Regions from separate parts of the Homo sapiens genome. Here all the other regions are linked to region 3. Evidence: promoter capture Hi-C in 16 types of primary human blood cells and fetal thymus (Javierre and others, 2016). All regions are on one chromosome and are shown on one strand. The core of a region is centred on a gene start or on the middle of the fragment in contact, and the rest is flanking DNA. Distances in the headings are between cores, read along the strand shown.

Evidence for each region. Contacts are between HindIII fragments. The CHiCAGO score rates a contact against its expected background, and 5 or more counts as called.
Region 1: a contact is called between the fragment with the promoter of TAF2 here and the fragment with the promoter of UTP23 in region 3, in 3 of 17 cell types (non-activated CD4 T cells, total B cells and total CD8 T cells). The highest score is 7.0, in non-activated CD4 T cells.
Region 2: the fragment with the promoter of DEPTOR here is called in contact with the fragment with the promoter of UTP23 in region 3 in 1 of 17 cell types (non-activated CD4 T cells); the score reaches 6.1 in non-activated CD4 T cells.

The regions. Positions count from the first base shown.
Region 1 is chr8:119,831,320-119,834,228 of GRCh38, reverse strand. TAF2 (TATA-box binding protein associated factor 2) reads left to right here and starts at 1,388. Exons shown (of 26, transcript NM_003184.4): 1 at 1,388-1,747; 2 at 2,498-2,552. The coding sequence starts at 1,665. It overlaps DSCC1 (DNA replication and sister chromatid cohesion 1), which reads left to right. Exons shown (of 9, transcript NM_024094.3): 9 at 1-253. LOC105375728 (a long non-coding RNA gene) reads right to left here and starts at 1,350. Exons shown (of 4, transcript XR_928590.3): 1 at 1,153-1,350. RefSeq lists enhancers at 1,267-1,626, 1,687-1,736. The HindIII fragment of the contact is 3,868 bases long and covers 1-1,462 here.
Region 2 is chr8:119,871,987-119,875,109 of GRCh38, reverse strand. DEPTOR (DEP domain containing MTOR interacting protein) reads right to left here and starts at 1,388. Exons shown (of 9, transcript NM_022783.4): 1 at 1,142-1,388. The coding sequence starts at 1,263. RefSeq lists enhancers at 651-700, 791-890, 525-1,025, 1,091-1,350, 1,026-1,526 and 1 more and a silencer at 1,370-1,542. The HindIII fragment of the contact is 2,864 bases long and covers 1-2,738 here.
Region 3 is chr8:116,765,172-116,768,135 of GRCh38, reverse strand. It overlaps UTP23 (UTP23 small subunit processome component), which reads right to left and starts at 1,612. Exons shown (of 3, transcript NM_032334.3): 1 at 1,345-1,612. The coding sequence starts at 1,532. It also overlaps a transcript of EIF3H not described here. RefSeq lists enhancers at 1,226-1,535, 1,546-1,695. The HindIII fragment of the contact is 9,967 bases long and covers 621-2,964 here.

The DNA.
Region 1 (2,909 bases), core at 139-2,638, 3.1 Mb before region 3:
AGCTTTATTTTCCTGATTTGTTTTGGTTTAGATCAAAGTTCAAATTAATTTTAACTTAGCTAATGAACTCATCACCAGGACAGTTGGAGGGGGTAGGCCGAGGTTAAATGGTCCACGTTTCAAAAATGTTAATGGCTAATCCATAATTAAAGAAGGTTTAACTGTTACTGAAGTTTACAAGTTTTATTGTCATGAACATGAAATACAAACACGATGGCTTCGAAATGTCTTTCAATAAATGTTTCTGCATTTATATGGATTATATGATATATATACACAGTCTATATATCTCTATGTAGTCTATTTATTTATTTTGAGAGGGAGTCTCGCTTTGTCTCCCAGACTGGAGTGCAATGGCATGATCTCAGCTCACTGCAAACTCGGCTTCCCGAGTTCAGGTGATTCTGGTGCCTCACCCTCCCGAGTGGCTGGGAATACAGGCGCACGCCACGACGCAGGGCTAATTTTTGTATTTTTACTAGAGACGGGCTTTCACCATGTTGGCCAGGCTGGTCTTGAACTGCTGACCTCAAGTGATATGACTGCCTCAGTTTCCCTAAGTGCTAGGATTACAGGCGTGAGCCACCACGCCTGGCCTGTAGTCTATATTTTATTCTTTTTTTTTTTTTCTGAGACAGTCTCAGCTCTGTCGCCCAGGCTGGAGTGCAGTGGAACGATCTCAGCTCGCTGCAACTTCCGTCTCCCAGGTTCAAGCAATTCTCCTGCCCCAGCCTCCCAAGTAGCTGGGATTACAGGCGTGCACCACCACGCCCAGCTAATTTTGTGTAATTTTTAGTAGAGACGGGGTTTCACCATGTTGGTCAGGCTGGTCTCGAACTCCTGACCTCAAATGATCGGCCCGCCTCGGCCTCCCAAAGTGTTGGGATTACAGGAGTGAGCCACTGCGCCCGGCCTTGTAATCTATATTTTAAAATAAATACTAAGGCAGCAGTGCCTAGTGAGAGCTGTGGAGTGCTGCAGTTTTGACATTTAGACTACCTGCAGTCTAATCACATATTTTACAGCTTAAATCACCGGACCCAGTGTGTCTGTTCACACAGCAAGCCAGAGGCACGCACCTCCTGATTTCGGGAGACTTCCCACCACCCCACCCCGCCCAGTTACTAGCACCCTGCCCCAGCCTATTTATACCTGGCTCTTCGCAAACTTTGTCCTCCATTCTTCTCAATATGCTTGTACTAGAAAACTACCTTCCCTCCTTTTCTTCCTGCTGTTCTCGCTTCATCCATTAAATAGTTTTTTCCCTATCCTAAATTTTAACAATTCTTTACGATAAGACACATGCGAAGATCGCAAGCCCTGCCCATTGACAAGACTTCCTGGTTCTACCCCCGCCGCCGTTCCACTTCCGCTGACGTCGGAGGTCAGAGGTTACAGACAAGATGTCGGCGGATGGTAGCTTCGAGCCCTTGCGGAGAGGAGCATCTCTGTGACAGAAGCTTGTCGACGGCGGCTTCTAGGAGCTAGTCGAAGGAGCGAGGTTGAGGCGGGCAGCGACCCGTCAGGTCGCTCACCTGGGCACCGGCCAGCTGCGAGACGTGACTTGGGGACCGCAGGGGAGTGGAGAGTGTGAGGTGCCAAAGACTAGTAATGCCCCGTATCCCCCTAGGAAGCCGGGAAGCCAAGCTCCGCGGGACCGCTTCATGCCGCTGACTGGTGTAGAGCCCGCCAGAATGAACAGGAAGAAAGGAGACAAGGGCTTTGAAAGCCCAAGGCCATATAAATTATAAGTATTTTTTCATTTCCCTTCCTTCCTTTTGGTTTTGTTGCCATTAATTATATTTTGCGATTGCTTGAAATTGACTTGGTGGGCCTGGGAAACCTAGTGGGAAACTAGAATTTACTCACTGTGATGGAAATGGTGTTTGTAAGGTAAAAATGTTTTGAATGACAGGTTATTCAGCAAATTTAATTCCCGTTGCAAGTTACTAAAGTTTTTGTCTAAGTACTAGATTGTATTTCTGTCAAATCTGTTTTCGTGACTGTTGCTAGATTTTAAAAAATTATCCCAATTGGTAGAGTGTTTTTTTTTTTTTAATTTTTTAATTTTTAAGACGGAGTCTCTCAGTCGCCCAGGCTGGAGTGCAACGGCGCGATCTCGGCTCACTGCAGCCTCCACCTGCCGGGTTCAAGCTTTTCTCCTGGCTCAGCCTCCTGAGTAGCCGGGATTACAGGCGTGTGCCACGATGCCCGGCTAACTTTTGTATTTTTAGTAGAGACTCGGTTTCACTCTGTTGGCCAGGCTGGTCTCGAACTCTTGACCTCGTGATCCGCTTGCCGTGGCCTCCCAAAGTGCTGGGATTACAGGCGTGAGCCACCGCACCAGGCCCCAATTCGTAGTTTTAAAATGAAATATTGACATGTAATTTTGAATTACTTAGAACATAGTCCTAATTTATACTTGGATAGAATTATACTTTGATTTAATAATAAAAATTATTTTTTCCTTATTTTCTTTTTATATTTATTAATATACAACCCATCAGGTCGTCTGCATCAACAACATAAATTTCCAGAGAAAATCTGTTGTGGTAAGTTTATTCTCAACAATTATAAATAGTAACAAGTCCACTATAAAGAGTAACAATCCACCCCTCACAGTACTTAGAAAGTTTGTAGTCTTCCAGATAATTGTGTTTCAAGAATAGGTAAGAATTAAAATTAGGGTCTGTATGATTACAAGTTCCATGGTCCTTCTATTAATACCTATTGCCTCCCAAATTCTCCCTTTCCTTTTTTTTCAATTTCCTAATTAAAATTTTATTCCTCTTTATCTGGTGTATAATATGAAAGCCTGTATAGCCAAGCATTTTATAATTGTGCATGAAACAAGTATAAGCCCATAGCGACATTTCTTCTATGAAAAAAATTAAGATTAATACACTCAC
Region 2 (3,123 bases), core at 139-2,638, 3.1 Mb before region 3:
TAAAAATCAACAAAGAATCGATAGGTGCAATTTGCCTTTTGTAACATTAAAAATCAGTTAATTCTGACTTCCAATATTGGTCTCCTTCAGAGACCTTTGCAAGACACTCTTTCAGGTCCTGAAACACAGACATTTAGAAACCAAAACAAGCTGGGGAATTCAGGCTAAGAACTAGAAGTAACAGGGGCCCGCGTACAAGTTGTGGCTCAAACGCTGCAGAGCTGGGTTTTCTTTTTCCTGGCAAACTGATTTATAACCACACGAAGGGCAGCTGCAGAACCAGTTAGACCATAAGTACTATTCCCAAACAGCCCTAGAGGAAGGACCATACAGGGATGGGAATGGCAAGGGGGATTCTGGGGGTCGTCCTTGTTCCCAAGTTCCGTGAGACGCCGCAAGTCTTAATTCTTGCAGGAGCCAGGGTCCCCATGGATCCTGCTGCCCAAAACGTGCGAGCCCGGGGAGTTGGCACAGCCTCAAGGCAGCCCGACAAGGTGCCTCCACGCCCCCTTGCGGACCCAAATGATTGAGGACGATGTGCCAATTAACTGATAGGTGCAGGGTTTCAGAAATGCTCTCTCAGTTTAACCTCACAAAAAGCCCTTGAATCAGCCCTGTTTTACAGATGTAAAACACCGAGGCTCAGGGGAGTGAAGGAAGACTTGTCAGCAAAAAGGAAAACCTAGTGAAGACTATCGTTGGTCTTGCTCCTTTTATCAAGGAGTAGAGGGGCTGGGGTCGCCTCGGGACCCCACAGCGACCCCTCTTGCTCTCTTCGCGGATGAGGCGCAGGCTGTCAGCCGGGAGGCCTGGCGGCGTCCAGGTACACGGGAAGACGGACAGCGCGGTGGGTGGCAGGGACTTTGCCCGGCACAGGACTGCAGCAGCCAGGCTAGGGCGCAGCGCGCACCACCCGCTCGTCGGCTTCTGCCAGGCAGCCCCGCTTGGCGAGCGAGTCCTCAGGGACCGAGGCTGCAGCAGCTAAGCGCGGGCGCACCGAGGACCATCCACGCGCCCGCAGCCGTTCCGGCGCCCCACGCGAGTCGCAAGCCACGAGCCAGGGAGCGCGTGCGCGCAGGACTGCAGCGGGCACGCGTTGGCAGTGCCATCGTGAGCTCACCCGCTGTGTCTCTTGCCTTACCGTAGCTGTTCCCCGGTGACCAAGACCTCAGCCATGCGCTCCAGCTCCCTTTGCTGCGCCCCGCCACTCCCGCTGGTGCTGCTGTCACTGCCAGCACTGCCAGTGCTGCCGCCCTCCTCCATGGTTTTAGGGCCGTGCGGCTACCACTGGCTCCGCTGTCCGCCGAGGGTTTGGGTGCTCGGATCAGTCTGCCCTCACAGACGCTTCCCGCGCCATCTTTGTTCGGGGCAGCTCCGCTGCTCTGACTGGATTGGCTGGAGAGGGAATCCCTATGGGTAGGCAGACGCGCTGGGCTAGTCCGGCCCCAGAAACTTGAGCTTGGGGGCGTGGCTAGAGCCCCTCATGGTCGGGGGGCGGGGCCGATGGAGGAAAATATAAACATCTGGGCGGGGCGCTGCTACTGAGCTGTGTGTGCTGCTGGAGGCTGAATTTGGTGAGCTCTCTTTACCCACAAAGCTCATGCTGTAGAATCCTGGGGACAGGCCTGGAGGTTATTAGTGTGAAGGCGTTTTTATTGTACGTTCCACACCCCAAGTTGCCAGAGAGCAAAACATAATTCAACAATCTGGCCAAATGGTCAACAGTGAAGGTTATACATGTCATTGAAGGGCATGGAGAAATTAAACATTCTTCTCTCCCCAACCTCTCTCTCCAAAGACGACTTGTTTGCCTTATGTTGTAATCAATAAGGAACGCCGGCCTAGGAATCAGGCTGACCTGGGATCCAGCTCCGCTCCTGTGATGTCCTATTTAAATGTGTTTAATCCTCCCTTACAAAATAAAAATAATTGCGGCTACCACTTTTGACATCTGCTGCATTAAAGATACTTCAGGTATGGTATTACCTCGTTTAATTATTACAATAATTCATAAAATAGGTATTGGTGTTCGTTTTGCATTAGAATGCAGGCTTGGAGAGGTGAAGTTACTTGTCTAAGGCAAGCAAATAATAAGTATAAGAAGAGCCGGGCACCGTGGCTCATGCCTGTAATCCCAGCACTTTGGGAGGCCGAGGCGGGCAGATCACCTGAGGTCAGGAGTTCCAGACCAGCCTGACCAACATGAAGAAACCCCGTCTCTACTAAAAATACAAAATTAGCCGGGCGTGGTGGTGCATGCCTGTAATCCTAGCTACTTCGGAGGCTGAGGCAGGAGAATCGCTCGAACCCGGGAGGCGGAGGTTGCTGTAAGCCGAGTTCGGGTGAGCGGAGTTAGTGCCATTGCATTCCAGCCTGGGCAACAAGAGCGAGACTCCGTCTCAAATCATCATAATAATAATAAGAAGAAATCTAACCGAGGCAATTCTGGCTTCAAAGTTATGCTTTGAAAAGACTGAAAGACTGCCTCTTAAAATGGGGATACAATGGTATTGTCTATCCGTAAAAGATTATGAAAAGAAATTTGATTAGTACCAAATAAATGTTCTGATTTTCTGTTTCATGCAGAGTCGGAGTTGGTCTGCAGGAAGGCGAAGTAATGTTTATGGCAGTATTCATGTGTGTTGAGCATTTATTCTGTGCTTTACATTGTGCCAAACACTTTATCCTCACAAAACCCTGGAGTTTGGTATTATTTTCAACTTACAAATGAGAAAGCTTAAGTATAGAAAGATGAAGTAATCTGCCTAGAAAGTTAGGTAGCCCTTAAACCCTGGCCATACTCAGCCCCACTCCAGAAAGAGAATAGTTGCCCAACTCCCTTGAACATCCGGGAGCAGACCAGCTCTGAATCTGCATGAGACAGATGTTAGGTGACTCTTTTGCCAAAAGAAATTATTTAAGTTTCTTAATTTTTTAAATAGGCCACAATAGACATGTAGACCAAGGCAGACATAGTTCTAGGTGACTGTGATTCTAAGAGCCTTATTCTGCATAAAATACATAAATCATTCAACAGAAGTCCCAGAGTTAATGAGATTAAAAGGTGTCTGTTGCTCATGTTTTAATCTTATAACTACTAAATAGAATATCAAGAGTTTGCAC
Region 3 (2,964 bases), core at 363-2,862:
AAGTAATCGTATGTGAGGAAAAGGAGACTATTAACACAGTATACACAGAAAAAGCCCATACTTTGTTATGGCTGTAGTTAGAGATGGGGGTTTCCTACGTTGCTCAGGCTCACCTCAAACTCCTAGACTCAGGCAACCCTCCTGTCTCAGCCTCCTGTGTAGCTACTAGGATTACAAGTGTGAGCCACCTTGCCTGGCTTAAAAGTCCATTCTTGTGCTTGTGTGAGTGTGTATAAAGAACTGGATGGATGACACTGCACATGTTAACAGTGATTATTCGTGAGTAGTGGTATTATGAGTCATTTTAATTTTCTTTTTTTGCTTTTTAAAAGTAAATATTCTACAATGAAAAAACTACTAAATTTCTTAATAGTTCTTCATGGCCTAGCCTCAATTTGCCTTCTTCCTAGTTTCACTCCCAAATATATTCTGTGCTGCAACCTCTTTCCCAGGCATTTCATAACTCCATTTCGTGTGAAGAGGTCTCCACAACAAGAAGTGTCATTCTTTTCTGTCATTCAAAATAGTTCTTCCTCTCAGAACTGAACAAGTGAATGGGCTCAAATGTTATCTGAAATCTGTCACAATTCTCTCCTCTCTCCTCTTCATCCCGACAAGCTTCCATCCTAAGTGTTCCCACATTTCAATGAAGTGGGGAAACATCAGACCTAGAGTGAAAACACACACTGCAGACTGACTTATGCACTTTACTGGCCATGAGGGAGCAGTATGTGGCATATAGGAGGTACTTAATAAAGCGAGTTGAATAAACAAATGTGCTTGGGCAGATTCCTTAATCTCAAGTACTGACTTTTTGCCCTGGACATCAAAGATGGTAACTCACAGGTTCACTGTGAGGCTTGCAGAGTTTTGGTTTAAACTAAGAAAAGCTATGCAAATGACAGCAACCATTTGAAGACGGGTACACTTTGGATACCGAAAAATGCTCTAGTACACTATACTCGTTTGAGCTTACAGCAATCTTCTAAGCAGTTATCATCTTTATTTTACAAATGAGGAATCCGAGGCTCAGAGAGGCTAAATAACTTGACAGAAATCACAGAGCTGGTAGAACTGGGATCAAGATTCGAAGTCGGATCTCTCTGCTATAATGTGCTCTCATTCGCCAGGCTAACGACACGTGATATTCACAGGGCACTGTCCAATCTGCCTCTATTATAGGTATTCGCCTGACCACCTTCACCTCTCCACTTAACTGTCAACTCCACGTGGGCGGGGCGTTTTGCACCTCCTGAGCTCGCAATGAAGGTCTGTGAGCAACGGCCTCGCCTCTACAACACCCGACGGACCCTCTGTGCCTCCTCCCCAGCCCCCCGGGCCCACCTTGTGGTGCACAGCTGCGTCTCCCCCATGAGGTAGCGGGGCAGCTGCTCCCGCAGCTGGATGCGGCCCCGCAGCGCCGCCTGACAGAAGGTGCCGTCCAGCAGGATCTGGTACGGCTCGCGGACTCCGAAGTTGTTGCGGAAGAAGCCAAGATGCTTCTTGGCATGTTTCTGCCTTGTGATCTTCATGCCTGGCTTACCGGGACCGAGGCCACCGGACCAGGAAGCATCAGTAAACGCCTCACGCACGCCCCAGTACCCTCAATGCCAGTTTCACCCGGAAATGAAGCGCCTTTGGCCACGGAAGCAAACGCCTCTGTCTTCCGGGCCTGCCCATTGGTTTACGTCATGTCCAGACCAGCGCGCGCTTCCACCGCAGTGCCCGCGCTTAAAGGGGCGGTCCCTTAGGGCGGAACTTGTGCGTACGCTGGAAAACCGCTGGGGTGCGCGATTCCGCACGGGGGCGCACATGCGCAGTCTGGGGCCACGGTAAAAGAAAATTACGAGAATACATTTAGCGTGTTACCTACGTTTTAGAGGCGCGTAGCAAGAGCTTCTCTGAAAGACTGGCAGTATAGTAGTAGTCAGTGATAATATTGAGCCTTAATATGTTCCAGACACTGTCCTAAGTGATTTACCTTACATTATTCCCCTGAATGTTTATAATTCCCAAGTGAAAGAAGGAAATGATATATTGGATAGCTATGAGTGGGGAGGTTTGTACTGGCTGCTTTCCCATAAAGAAATTAAGCACGTTCACGAAGGGCACGTAGTTTGTTAGTGTCTGGAACCCAGTTTTCGTGCCTGAAGTTCAAATGTTCTTGCTACACCACCATAGAAACTAACGTCACTCAGGAACCATTTGTCAGGGCAAAGGGTGCCACCATTTTGCATTTCCTCCTGCCTTAGGACCATCCTAAATCACTCGCATGGAGTGTTTTGGAAGAACTCTCAAGAGCTTCGTTTGCCTAGAGTCAGAATTCCTAACCTTGAGTCCTGGTTTTGCCACAAACCCAAGCCGTTTGATCTTGGGCAACTCCCGAAGAAAGCTGGGTTCAACTTCCTCACTGTCAAACTGGTTGTAGGTCTAGATAAGTTTCAAGTACTCTTTTTATGTGCATGGTCTCTGACATAGGAAGACTACATACTGGGCCAGTAACAGGAAGGCACAAAGCTGACTGGAGGTTTAAAAATTACTTGGTCAATTTGATTAATGAGGAGAATGAATCAGAAAATTTCAAGTTCTCCCGTGGCTAACTGTCGAGTATCCACTTCAAGGTAAAATAATCAAAGAATGGGGAGTATGGAATTTTGCATTTTTGTCCTTGCCTGGAATCTGTCCCAGATCTAGTTTTGGCTAAAGATTGAAAGAACCAGCACAGAAAATGATTTACAACGTGATTGAATGCATTGTTTGCATTTGGGGTTTTATTTCAATATGTAGGTTTATGAAATTGGAATAAGATCTATAATGTTAGCCCTGATCTGAGTCCCAGCACATCACTTAGATGGTTGCTTTCATTTAAACTTAAAATGAATTTAGGAATTGGAAGCCATGAAAACTTTTGCAGGGTTGGATTCAAGGTCTTTGAGTGTAATTGCTCAGTACTTTTCAATTTGA